Linked DNA regions of Homo sapiens: regions 2, 3 and 4 are each linked to region 1. Evidence: promoter capture Hi-C in human tissues and cell types (Jung and others, 2019). All regions are on one chromosome and are shown on one strand. Each heading gives the region's core, a stretch centred on a gene start or on the middle of the fragment in contact. The rest is flanking DNA. Distances are from core to core; before and after follow the strand shown.

Region 1 (3,027 bases), core at 172-2,671:
GACAGAGGTCAGCATAGAGGTTCCTGGGGCTATCTAGGAACAGGCATGAGGCGTTATTGGAAACAGTCTACATCTTGAACTGGGGGATGGTTACTAGGGTGGTGTATACGTATGAAAAGTTCAGTGAGTTGCATACTTAAAATCCGTACACTTTATGTATGTTTTATTTTTAGAGGCAAAAAATATTATTGACAGCCTGTCATGTAAACATTTTCAATAACCATCATAAAACTCTAAATTCCTGGGAAAGAATATTGTTATCAGAGTATATTTACTGCCACAAACACTGCATTTGCTGAGCTAAAGTCAAAACTTAATACAGGGAACAGGAGATGTTCCTTTTTTCCAATGTTACATATATAAAAAGACCAAACCTTTCTGGCTTGCACTCCCTAGGCCAAATTCCTTTAACTGTGTCATTTAATCGGTCCTTCCTTGTGTGGCACTGGCTGTCCACTGTCCCAAGCCCTCGCATGTCCTGGATGGCCGGTCATCATCCACACGGGGGCTGAAAGGCCCGGCTCCAGCACTCCTGTGGTCATCATCCTGCTGAATCGCTTTGAACTACCCTTGGCCTAACCGCGACTCCCATCCCGCTTCCCTCCTGCCTCGCCACTGCAGGCCTGTCCCTTTGCTTTCTTAAAACTGCGCACCGTCTGAGGCCACTTCGAGCCTACTGGATCCCTGGTTCCAACCCAGTAGGATCACAGAAGCAGGGCCAGCTGCCAGGTAGGGGACACCAAGGGCAGAAACCTCCGGGGCCCGCAGCGCACCGGTGACCGCGAACCCGCGTGGCTCCCCTCAGGCTGAGTCGGCTTCCACCCTCCCACCCGAGCCACCGGGGATCAGGGCCCGGGAAACACGCTCGGTCCTTTTCGGCGCTTCCGGGTTTGAAAACCGCGGCTTGCTATGACGTGTGACCAAAATGCGGGGCCAGCTGTCCCAGAGAGAATCCCATCCCGCGCCGGGCCGGGTAGTGGGAGCCACCGGGGTGGGGGGCGGCGCGCCCGGGGTCGCGGGCCGCTCCGCCAGTTCTTGGGCCGACCCCGCCGCCCGGGCGCGCGTGTTTACCTGAAACCAGGAACACGTGCTGCCGGGCGCCAACCCCGTCCCCGCAGTCCACGCCAGCGGCCATGCCGCCCGCCTCTTCCGGGGCGCCGCAGGCTCAGCGCCGCGGGCCTCAGTCTCCCAGCCCCGCCGAAAATGGCGGGAGAAGGGTCTGTTCCGGGTGGCGCGGCGCGCTGAGGGACCGGCAGCGCCCGGGAGGAGGCCCAGGGACCGAATTTCGTTTCGTTTCCGAGACCAGCCTGCTGCTCGTGTTACGTTTTTAAATTTAGCGCCAGGCGAGGGGCTCTGAATGCCGGCCGGTGGCCGCAGGCAACGGGAAGGGGCCGCGGCCTCTCCCTCGCGGCTCCGCTAGTGGTAGGTGCTCATCGCGCGCCGCAGGGCGCCGAGTGACGCGGAGCGGGGCGGGGTCGCCGGGGCCCCGCGCTCTGTGGCTGCACCCAGCGGCCCTCCATGGTCTAGCCAGCGGGCTAGGATTGGGTCTGCGGGGTGTGTGCCCGGACAACGGGTGACGCCCGCCACACCCCCGGGGCCGGGGGACTCACCTGGAGCTAGTCCGTGTTAAGGACAATAGCAGTCACATCGGAATCCGAATGCAACTCTTAGCCATGGTCCTCAATTATTTGTGAATATATATTGGTCATCAGTTGCATTCTGTGTTGCTATTGATGTGAGAATATGTGTGCATTGTGAGCTACAAGGGATGTCCTCAATTTGGACTCCGTCCTCATCACTAAAAGAGGTGCACAGTTTTGGGCTCAGAATATGAATTTGTTGTTTTGGAGAACGCTGTATACTGAGTTAAAAACTTAGACATTTATTTAAAAAGTGATGTTTAAAAAGTTAGAGCCATGAAATTTGGGGATTTAAACTTTTAAAAATAACATTTTAATTGAAAAGTGTTGTTTGGTACATGGTTTTTAAGAAGAAAGTACATATTCCTTTCATACTTTAGAGAAAAGCACGGGCCAGGCGCAGTGGCTCAGGCCTGTAATCCCAGCACTTTGGGAGGCCGAGGCGGGCGGATCGCCTGAGGTCAGGAGCTGGAGACCAGCCTGACCAACAAGGTGAAACTCCGTCTCTACTGAAAATACAAAAATTAGCTGGGTGTGGTGGTGCACATCTGTAATCCCAGCTACTACGGAGGCTGAGGCACAAGAATCACTTGAACCCAGGAGATGGAGGTTGCAGTGAACCGAGATCCCACCACTGCACTCTGGCCTGGGCTACAGAGCTGGACTCTGTCAAAAAAAACAAAAACAAAAAAATCCACAAAAACCTATTTTTTTTTTTTTTAAAGAAAAGCATGATGTATCTCTTTTATCCCAGATCCCAGGGGTAACTGTTAACATTTCTTCTCTATTCTTGCAGAATTTTTCCATGCAAAAACAAGTTAATGTCTTATTTTTGCACAATTGAAAGAATAATATACATAACTCATGCACTTTGCTTTTCATGTTTAATCTTGAAGATAGTTAAATTTAGCAGCACTAAATTTATCTCGGCCCTCTGAAAAGGTTTTTAACTTCAAACCTGTTTCCCATGGGGTGAGACCAATACAGCTGCAGTTGATTGCAGGACACAGCTGGTGGAGAAGAGGCCTTTCTGGCTGAGGAAAGGCGCCTCTTGCCAGTTTTGGGGCAAGGAGCAGCAGATTGGTACTGCTCTGATCTTCCCTCTCCCCCAAAACGACTGTAGAAGATGCTGTGGTGTATAGCACAAATCCCCAGGCACACCATCGTCTTACTAACAGCTACAGGAGCACCCCATTATTCCTGTAGGATGGGATCCAAAACCCCCAGTGAAGGCCTAAAACCGCAAATAGTACCAAACCCTAATATACTGTTTTTTCCTTTGCATGTATATCTGTGATAAAGTTTAATTTGAAAATTAGGCCCAGTAAGAGATGAACAACAATAATAATAAAATAGAACAATTCTCACAGTATGCCAGCATCACTAC
Region 2 (3,027 bases), core at 217-2,716, 1.7 Mb after region 1:
GCTGCATTGAGCCATGATCATGCCACTGCACTCCATCCTGGGCGACAGAACAAGACCCTGTGTCAAACAAGAAAAGAAAAGAAAGCAAATCTATTGTACATCATGGTGACTATGGTTAACAAAAATAAATTGTATATCTAAAAATTGCGAAGACAGTAGATTTTAAATATTCTTACCAAAAAAGTATGTGAGGTATCAGATATGCTAATTAGCTTGATTTAGCCATTCCACAATGTATACAACATATATCTATCAAAACATCATGTTGCATACAATAAACATATACAATTTTTATTTGTCAGTTTAAATAATTTCTTTAAAAAGTGCTGAGCATAGTTTGGTGTTGCCGTCGGGGGCTCAGGATCAGTGTGATGGACCTCACCATTGGATGTCCCACTTTTCCTCATTCTTTCCTGTCAGTCTAGTTACCCCATCTCCCAACATCACTGTTCTGTTGCTAATAGCCCTTCCTCTCTTGTGCCATCCTATTGAATGCTTTTAACATGCTATTGGTGGGCACAGCAGATGACCCAACTTGTTAGCAACTGTATTTTAAATGAAAATCAACCTCATGGACTTGAAAGCTTTATAAAAAGCTATTTTAGGTGCAACAAGTCTCTTTTGTTTAATTCTAGTACTTTTTTTTTTTTTTTTTTTTTGAGGCAGGGTCTTGCTCTCTTACCCAGGCTGGAGTGCAGTGGTACAATCACAGCTCACTGCAGCCTTGACCTCCTGGGCTCAAGTGATCCTCCCACCTCAGCCTCCCGAGTAGCTGGGACTACAGACATGCACCGCCACACCTGGATGTTTTTGTAGTTTTTGTAGAGATGAGATTTCGTCATGTTGCCTAGGCTGGTCTTGAACTCCTGGGCTTAAGCGATCCTCCTGTTTTGGCTTCCCAAAGTGTTGGGATTACAGGTGAGAGCTACTGTACCTGGCCTAATTCTAGCAAATTTCTAAAATATACCCAAACCTACAAGGCTGAGGGAAGTGAGGGATTCACAGAATAATTTATGTAGAAGAGATGACAAATAATTTGGTTCTAACCTTCTTACTTTACATGTGAGCAAACTGAGCTCAGAAAGATTTAATGACTCCTCAGATGGAGAGTTATTGTTAATAAACTATGTTCAGCAGAGTTTGCATGGTTTGAGCCAACAATCACTATAACATCTTTTATTTTATTATTATTATTTTTTGAGACAGGGTCTCACTCTGTCACCCAGGCTAGAGTGCAGTGGTGCAAGCATAACTCACTGCAGCCTTGAACTCCTGGGCTCAAGTGATTCTCCTGCCTCAGCCTCTCTAGCAGCTTGGGACTACAGGTGTGCACTCCCACACCTGGCTAACTTTTTAGTTTTTTTTGTAGAGACAGGGTCTTGCTATGTTGCCCAGGCTGGTCTTGAACTCCTGGCTTCAAATGGTCCTCCTGCCTTGGCCTCCCAAATACTATAAAATCTTAACTACATCCATGGAAGGAATTTCTGGTTACTAAAAGTAATACATTTAATGCTTGGTACAGTTTCTCTAAATTCCCCTGCTCTTTATTAAAACTTATTTAATCACATCTATACTTATTTACATACTTTTTTTCCCCCATCCTGACAAGTCACAGAATCTTGAGGTTAAGGGTCCTGGTCCTATTATTATTATTATTATTTTGAGACAGTCTCACTCTGTTGCCCAGGCTGGAGTGCAATGGCACAATCCCGGCTCACTGCAACCTCTACCTCCTGTGTTCAAGTGATTCTCATGCCTCAGCCTCCCGAGTAGCTGAGATTACAGGGATGTGCCACCACGTCCAGCTAGTTGGTTTTTTTTTTTTTTTTGTATTTTTAGTAGAGACAGGGTTTTACCATGTTGGCCAGGCTGTTCTCAAACTCCTGACCTCAAGTGATCCACCCACCTCTGCCTCCCAAAGTGCTGGGATTACAGGCCTATTCATTTTTATATATAGCCCAACAACTTAAACATAAAATATACTTTGTATTTTTTCCTTGTCGAAGGAAATCAAAATGTATATGGAAATTAGTAAAGGAACATTTAAAGAATCCAACTTAGGAACTGCTACTGGGAAATGTGTTTATGAAATGCATTTTTATTTTTATTTATTTTTAGAGGTGAGGTCTTGCTCTGTTGCCTAGGCTGGAGTGCGGTGGCTCGATCATAGCTCACTGCAGGTTTCAACCCCTGGGCTTAAGAGAGTAGTCCCCACCTCAGCCTCTTGCGTAGCTCGGACTATAAGGCTCAATCCATTGCACCTGGCCATTTTCATCTTTATTTAAGAAAGCCAGATGCTTGCATTAGGCACAAGAATCCAGTTTTTAAAGATGCATGCTGGAGGATAACTCAGAATCATATGAATGGGGTTATTATAAATACAAAAAATAACTGAAGACTTTCAGTGAAAGATAGCATCCTTTGGGAGTAAAATGCCAATGGTGTCCCTTAAAAAGCTAAGTAATGAAGTGAATATGCCTCTTATGAGTTGTTGGATTTTTAGAAAATAAATGTTCAGTACTTTTGTTTCATGTTTTTAAAAACAAACAAAAAGACCCAACAAGTGATAGTTAATAGGATATGAACTGAGGACAAAAATGCTAGCTCACATTTACTGAGAATTACTGCATTCCAGATGGCATACCAAGTACCTTGTATTATTATATGTTATACGTACATTGCAATAGTTATATAACTAAACACTCCATTATAATGTATTATAATACTGCAATGAACTTAGTTTTTAAGAAATCGATATTTTTCCCTGTCCAAAATGTTGCTATCCTCCATTTACATTTAAGTAGTATTTATCAAATCTATTACTACCCGGCACAATGCTAGTTGCTTTACACAGATTTAAATATTACTTCATTATCCTTTATGGTCTCAGTCATCACACAGAGTTACATTTTTTTTAGAAGAAGAACCACCCAGCTTGGAGCAGTGGCTCATGCCTAGAATCCCAGCACTTTGGGAGGCTGAGGCAGGCGGATTACTTGAGCCCAGGAGTTCAAGACCAGCTTGGGC
Region 3 (3,027 bases), core at 346-2,845, 1.2 Mb after region 1:
CAGCCATCACCATAGCCCTCAGGCAGAAGTCCATCCCTCACCAACAGGGAAGAGAGGCAGTGATCAAAACACCTCCTCCAGGAAGTCTTCCCTGAAGTTCGTAGTCTGGCTTCAGTGCCACTTCTTCCCTGCCCTCATATTCGCTAACCGCCACTTACTGCCTGGTTTTCAGCCTCACTAGGATGTGGGCCACTAAGGGCCAACATGGTCCTACTTGCAGCTGCATTATCAGGGCCTACCATAACACCTTCCAAATGCTTAAAAAAAAAAAAAAAGACTTGTTGAAGGCTGGACACGGTGGCCCACGCCTGTAATCCCAGCATTTTGGGAAGCCAAAACAGATGGATCACTTGAGGTTAAGTTTGAGACCAGCCTTGCCAACATTGTGAAACCCTGTCTCTACCAAAAATACAAAAATTAGGCCAGGTGCAGTGACTCAAGCCTGTAATCCCAGCACTTTAGGAGGCCAAAGCAGGTGGATCACCTGAGGTCAGGAGTTCAAGACCAGCCTGACCAACATGGTGAAACCCCATCTCTATTAAAAATACAAAATTAGCCGGGCATGGTGGTGAGTGCCTATAATCCTAGCTACTTGGGAGGCTGAGGCAGGAGAATTGCTTGAACACGGGAGGCGGAGGTTGCAGCGAGCCAAGATCTGGCCATTGCACTCCAGCCTGGGTGACAAAGTGAGACTCCGTCTCAGTCAGTCAGTATTAGCTGAGTGTGGTGGTGGGTGCCTGTAGTCCCAGCTATTTGGGAGGCTGAGGCTGGAGAATCACTTGAACCTGGGAGGCAGAGGTTGCAGTGAGCCGAGATCATGCCATTGCACTCCAGGCTGGGTAACAGTGAGACTCCTTCTCAAAAAAAAAAAAAAAAAGACTTGGTCAATATCTCTTTTTGTTCCTAAAGAACTGACATTTTACTTAGGTGATATTTTATTAGATTTTAGGTGCACTAACTGGTACATTTCACCTATTGTATGTATATTTAAATTTAGAGGAGAAACGTTTCAATATGACATTGTTTTCCAGTTAGTTATTGGAGGGCACAGGAGACTGCAGACAGTCAGCTAAGGACAGGCTGATGACTCTCGGTGGCCTCTCACAGAACATTCCCTCAGCATGTGCCTTGTGTGTTATCCCATTAAATAGCTAATCCTCTTATTGTCCTTTCTCTTAGGACAGCCTTTTGTTAGAAACCTTTGTCCCAGGCCCTGAGGGATCCTTCCTCTGGTCTTTATGAGACAAGAGCTGTGTGCTGCTCAGTAGCAGATCACAGGCTCCTCTGTGGACTTCACACCTTTTCTGAATAATGCGAGGCAGTATTAAAGGGGGAGACGAGGTGTGATCACTTCCATTTTTTCACTGTAATCATTTGAGATCTTAGGACCAGCATGTATTACTTTTACAAATTAAGAAAGTAATTAAATAATTTTTAATGGCCTCCATAATACCTGGCCATCATTCCAGCCCTGAAAAGACTTTCTGAGTCATGGTGTTCCTGAGAAGAAACCACTCTGATAATGGGTCTGGATGGATCTCTGAGAGCACACTGGCTCCCCAAGCAGCACAGCTGAGACTGTGTGAGAGCCATTGTGAGTTCCCTGTCCCTGTGGGCGGAGATGCCCCTCTGCCCACTCCGATTCATTCTGCAGTCTGGGCTCTCTCCTCCCCTCCCTGCCCACTGTCCCTTCAGCACCTAGTTTCTCTTCTGTTATTAATAAACGTGTTGTTGTATTGAGATAGAGTCTAGCTCTTGTTGCCCAGGCCGGAGTGCAGTGGTGCGATCTCGGTTCACTGCAACCTCCGCCTCCTGGGTTCAAGCGATTCTCTTGCCTCAGCCTCCCAAGTAGCTGAGATTACAGGCATGCGCCACCACGCCCAGCTACTTTTTGTATTTTTAGTAGAGACACGGTTTCGCCATGTTGGCTGAGCTGGTCCCAAACTCCTGACTTCAAGTGATCCGCCCACCTTGGCCTCCCAAAGTGCTGGGATTACAGGCGTGAGCCACCGTGCCTGGCCAAGAAACAAGTTTTTGGTTGTTTGTTTTTTTGTTTTTTTTTTTTTGAGACGGAGTCTCGCTCTGTCACCCAGGCTGGAGTGCAGTGGCGCAATCTCGGCTCACTGCAAGCTCCGCCTCCTGGGTTCATGCCATTCTCCTGCCTCAGCTGGGACTGCAGGTGCCCGCCACCATGCCTGGCTAATTTTTTGTATTTTTAGTAGAGACAGGGTTTCACCATGTTGGCCAGGATGGTCTCGATCTCCTGACCTCGTGATCTGCCCGCCTTGGCCTCCCAAAGTGTTGGGATTACAGGTGTGAGCCACCGTGCCTGGCCATAAACGTGTTTTTTATAAACATGTCCTTCATAACAAATTTCCCACATCTCCATTATACTTACAGAATTTATATGGAAATTTTGAAGTAAGGAATTACAATGTATTTACCAAGATCATGACTGGAGATTGTCTTTGCAAAATCTGACCATGTTGAATTCTTTTAAAATTCTGCTACTTATGTTGAAGAGGGTGGGGCTGAGGAGGGCGTGTATGTGAAAGCATGCTGGAAACTGAATGATTGGACACCTGTAAACCTGCTGCTGTTCTCAGTGCTTGTGTCAGGTGGTAAACGCATTTTGGTCCCAGGGCTTCTCCTGCCTTCCACTAAGGCATCGTGAAGAATGCAGAGAGAGTGGCGATTACTCATTTTATCTCCACCTTAAAGGAAAGAAAGGTCATTTCCATGAACTGTCATAAAAATTGTTGCCATTTGAGTAACAACATGGATTTTGTCTTTAGGGAAAGAATATGGCAAAGCTGATGCAAGATGGGTTTATTTTGATCCAACCATTGTGTCTGTGGAAATTCTGACCGTCGCCCTGGATGGGTCTCTGGCATTGTTCCTCATTTATGCCATAGTCAAAGAAAAATATTACCGGTAGGTGCCCTTCTTCTGTCCTGCTGGAAGGAGGGGAGACATTACATGTCCCAACACTTAGGTGACCTTTGGAGTAGGTTGTGACCACATATA
Region 4 (3,027 bases), core at 265-2,764, 1.2 Mb after region 1:
CAGACACCTCCAGCAGGGAGGCCTCCTCACTTCCAGAGTGGGAAATGGGCTGGTAGGTGGGCTCAGCTCTTAGGCCCAGCTTCTGTCCTCTCTTTTACACAGTCTTGAGGCAAGAGGTCCAGACAAAAGCTAGAATTTAATTTTTTCTCCTCTTACAGATAATGGAAATTTTTAGTGTTCTCTGACTCTTAGTAATGCTGAAGGGGTGTGGGTTATATGTGTAGTTCTATTTTATTTATTCATCTATATCCTTTTTTGAAGGGTATGTGAATTCAGGTGCCTGCTATTATTTTAGGGCAAAAAGATGTGATGTCTTCAATTTGGATGACCTAATAGGAAACATCTTGATTTTGCATAAGCTACAACCAGTGCTTATATTCCTCTGTGACGACACCAAGCAATGCCACATACAAGATCTTTGACCTTGAATGAATCACCAGATCGCTAAGCCTGTTTTCTTCTATGTAGTTGCAAAGTTAGGATAGGCCTAGGGCATGGTTTATACTCCAGGTTTATACTTCAGTTGGGGACACATTTCAGGAGATTTTCAAACAGTTTTTTCCCCAGATGAAGTTAAAGTGCCAAGTCATTTCTTTTATTGGTTTACTTTAGTAGCCTGAAAAATTGTATTGCTAAATATGTTGGAAAACCAGTAGAGTAAATAGATGACCTTTCTGTTCTCTTCTGAACTTGAAACAGTATGGTGTGTTGGCCTCATTCTTGTAAATAGTGTTTTTCTGTGGGATTATTAGGTAGCTAATTTGTGAGGGCAGGGAGAATTACTTTTCTGCCTGTTTTTAAATTCATCTGTCTGATACATAAATGCAGAAGTTGGAATAGAAGTTTTCCCAGACTTCTGTGTCTCATTTTCTGTGAAGAATGATCTGAGGTAGGCACTGAAAGAAAGATAAGGTACTTTCTACTTAATAGATTAATCAGCTAAGCAGATATTTTTGCCACTAAGCTAAAACTTGAAATTTGGTTACTTTTTCTGTCACTACTCCTGAGGTGTGTTGAACAAGTAAAGCATTCAAACAAATATGTAAAATGGTTTTTCTTTTGTGTTTCCTGTAGATTCTTGTAGACACTGTTTGGGCTCTGTCATACTTGACAGATGGAGGTAATGAACAGATACAGATGGTTATTGATTCAGGAGTTGTGCCCTTTCTTGTGCCCCTTCTGAGCCATCAGGAAGTCAAAGTTCAAGTAAGTATTTTTAAATTTTTCTTATTTGTATACAGTTGTGTTTGCTATAACCAGTTAACTTGTACAGCTAGGCTTTAATTCTATCTGTAAGTGCTTATCTTCCACATTTCTTCTGCTAGTCCCTGAGCCTGATTTTGTTGATTTCCAAATCTTTATCTCACCCAGTTTCTTTGCTGAGTTCCACACTTGTATAGCCAATTGTTCTTGACCCTTTATACATATCATCTAAGAACTCCTTCAAGCTTTCCGTGGTTAACTAGACAGAAATGAAACGATCATCTCCCACAAACCTGCTCTTCTTCCTTGTCTACCTTCAGTGAACAGCATGGCCTAAGCTAGAAATTTTGATTCCTCCTTGCAATTCCCATTCCATTACAAAATCATTTCAATTCTTCTTATATAGGTTCAAATCTGTCTCTCCTTATCTATCTAGAACAACAGATTTAGTTCAAGACTCTATCTTTCCCCCAAATAATTGCAATAACCTAATTGCATTTCTTCTTTCTCTCTCCCACTCTAATTAGGGGTAGGCACTTATTAGATCTGTTCATCCTGCTTTACCAAAGTGACTTTCTAGGTGGAAGTGTGTGCCCATTCCAGGCGTTTATTAAAATATTATATATATTTTTGAGATGGAGTCTTGTTCTGTCGCCCAAGCTGGAGTATGGTGGCGCGATCTCTGCTCACCGCAGCCTCTGCCTCTCAGGTTCAAGTGATTCTCCTGCCTCAGCCTTCAGAGTAGCTGGGATTACAGGCATGCACCATCACACCAGCTAATTTTTGTATTTCTAGTAGAGATGGAGTTTCACTATGTTGCCCAGGCTGGTCTTAAACTCCTGACCTCAGGTGATCCCCCCCGCCTCGGCCTCCCAAAATGCTGGGATTATAGGCATGAGCCACCATGCCCAGCCTTAAGAAACTGGACTTCTTCTAAAATTTTAATTTCCTTTTATTTTTTGAATCTTTTTCCAACCAATTTTCACACAATTTTTTTTTTTCATAAAGTTTCAGTTTTTCACAAGAGACTATTTAAAATTCAGAATAGCTCTCAGACTGCTTGGTGCTTTGTGAAAGGATGAAATAAGTGTTATTTATGCCTTGCATTTTTACTTTTTCTCAGGATTATGAAAAATATAGAATTAGTCTTATAAGCAAATAAATTTATAGAAAACATTTTATCCCCACCCTAGACAGCAGCCCTCAGAGCAGTTGGCAACATAGTGACTGGCACCGACGAGCAGACCCAGGTTGTTCTCAATTGTGATGTCCTGTCACACTTCCCAAATCTCTTATCACACCCAAAAGAGAAGATAAATAAGGTAAGGCATATAATGTCCTCATTATGCTATTTCTTTCTGTGTCTCATTTTTAACTGTCTCCTTGTTTCTATTGCTACTTGTATGTTTTTCTTAAAAGCCACTGCAGCGAAGATGAGAATTATTTTAAATCACCTCTGCAAATGTTTTTCTTCAACTTTTTTTTTTTTTTTTTTGAGACAGAGTCTGTCTGTTGCCTAGGCTGGAGTGCAGTGGCACGATCTCGGCTCACTGCAACCTCTGCCTCCTGGGTTCAAGCGATTCTCCTGCCTCAGCCTCCCGAGAAGCTGGGACTACAGGTGCCCGCCACCACGCCCAGCTAATTTTTGTATTTTTAGTAGAGATGGGGTTTCACCATATTGGCCAGGCTGGTCTCGAACTCCTGACCTTGTGATCCGCCTGCTTCAGCCCCACAAAGTGCTGAGATTACAGGCGTGAGCCACCGCGCCCAGCCTTTTTCAACTTTTAATCGCTTCTGGTAGGTGCTGCCCTGGTCATCACAGAG

The links. The method cuts DNA at HindIII sites, captures the fragments that hold promoters and counts their contacts. A contact is called where the count stands out against the background at its distance.
Region 2: a fragment that was not itself captured here is called in contact with the fragment with the promoter of RNASEH2B in region 1 in 1 of the 25 tissues and cell types used here (heart left ventricle).
Region 3: a contact is called between a fragment that was not itself captured here and the fragment with the promoter of RNASEH2B in region 1, in 1 of the 25 tissues and cell types used here (mesenchymal stem cells).
Region 4: a contact is called between a fragment that was not itself captured here and the fragment with the promoter of RNASEH2B in region 1, in 1 of the 25 tissues and cell types used here (lymphoblastoid cells).

What each region holds. Positions count from the first base shown.
Region 1 is chr13:50,908,185-50,911,211 of GRCh38, reverse strand. RNASEH2B (ribonuclease H2 subunit B) reads right to left here and starts at 1,421. Exons shown (of 11, transcript NM_024570.4): 1 at 1,072-1,421. The coding sequence starts at 1,135. RNASEH2B-AS1 (RNASEH2B antisense RNA 1) reads left to right here and starts at 500. Exons shown (of 3, transcript NR_046552.1): 1 at 500-729. RefSeq lists silencers at 667-716, 927-1,166, 1,177-1,606. The HindIII fragment of the contact is 12,674 bases long and covers 1-3,027 here.
Region 2 is chr13:49,229,206-49,232,232 of GRCh38, reverse strand. No RefSeq gene overlaps it. Among named protein-coding and RNA genes, the nearest start is that of MLNR, 10 kb to the right of the region's middle. The HindIII fragment of the contact is 4,900 bases long and covers 1-3,027 here.
Region 3 is chr13:49,662,964-49,665,990 of GRCh38, reverse strand. EBPL (EBP like) reads left to right here. Exons shown (of 4, transcript NM_032565.5): 3 at 2,796-2,934. Among named protein-coding and RNA genes, the nearest start is that of EBPL, 27 kb to the left of the region's middle. The HindIII fragment of the contact is 6,425 bases long and covers 1-3,027 here.
Region 4 is chr13:49,709,070-49,712,096 of GRCh38, reverse strand. It overlaps KPNA3 (karyopherin subunit alpha 3), which reads left to right. Exons shown (of 17, transcript NM_002267.4): 11 at 1,075-1,206; 12 at 2,397-2,525. Among named protein-coding and RNA genes, the nearest start is that of EBPL, 19 kb to the right of the region's middle. The HindIII fragment of the contact is 7,351 bases long and covers 1-3,027 here.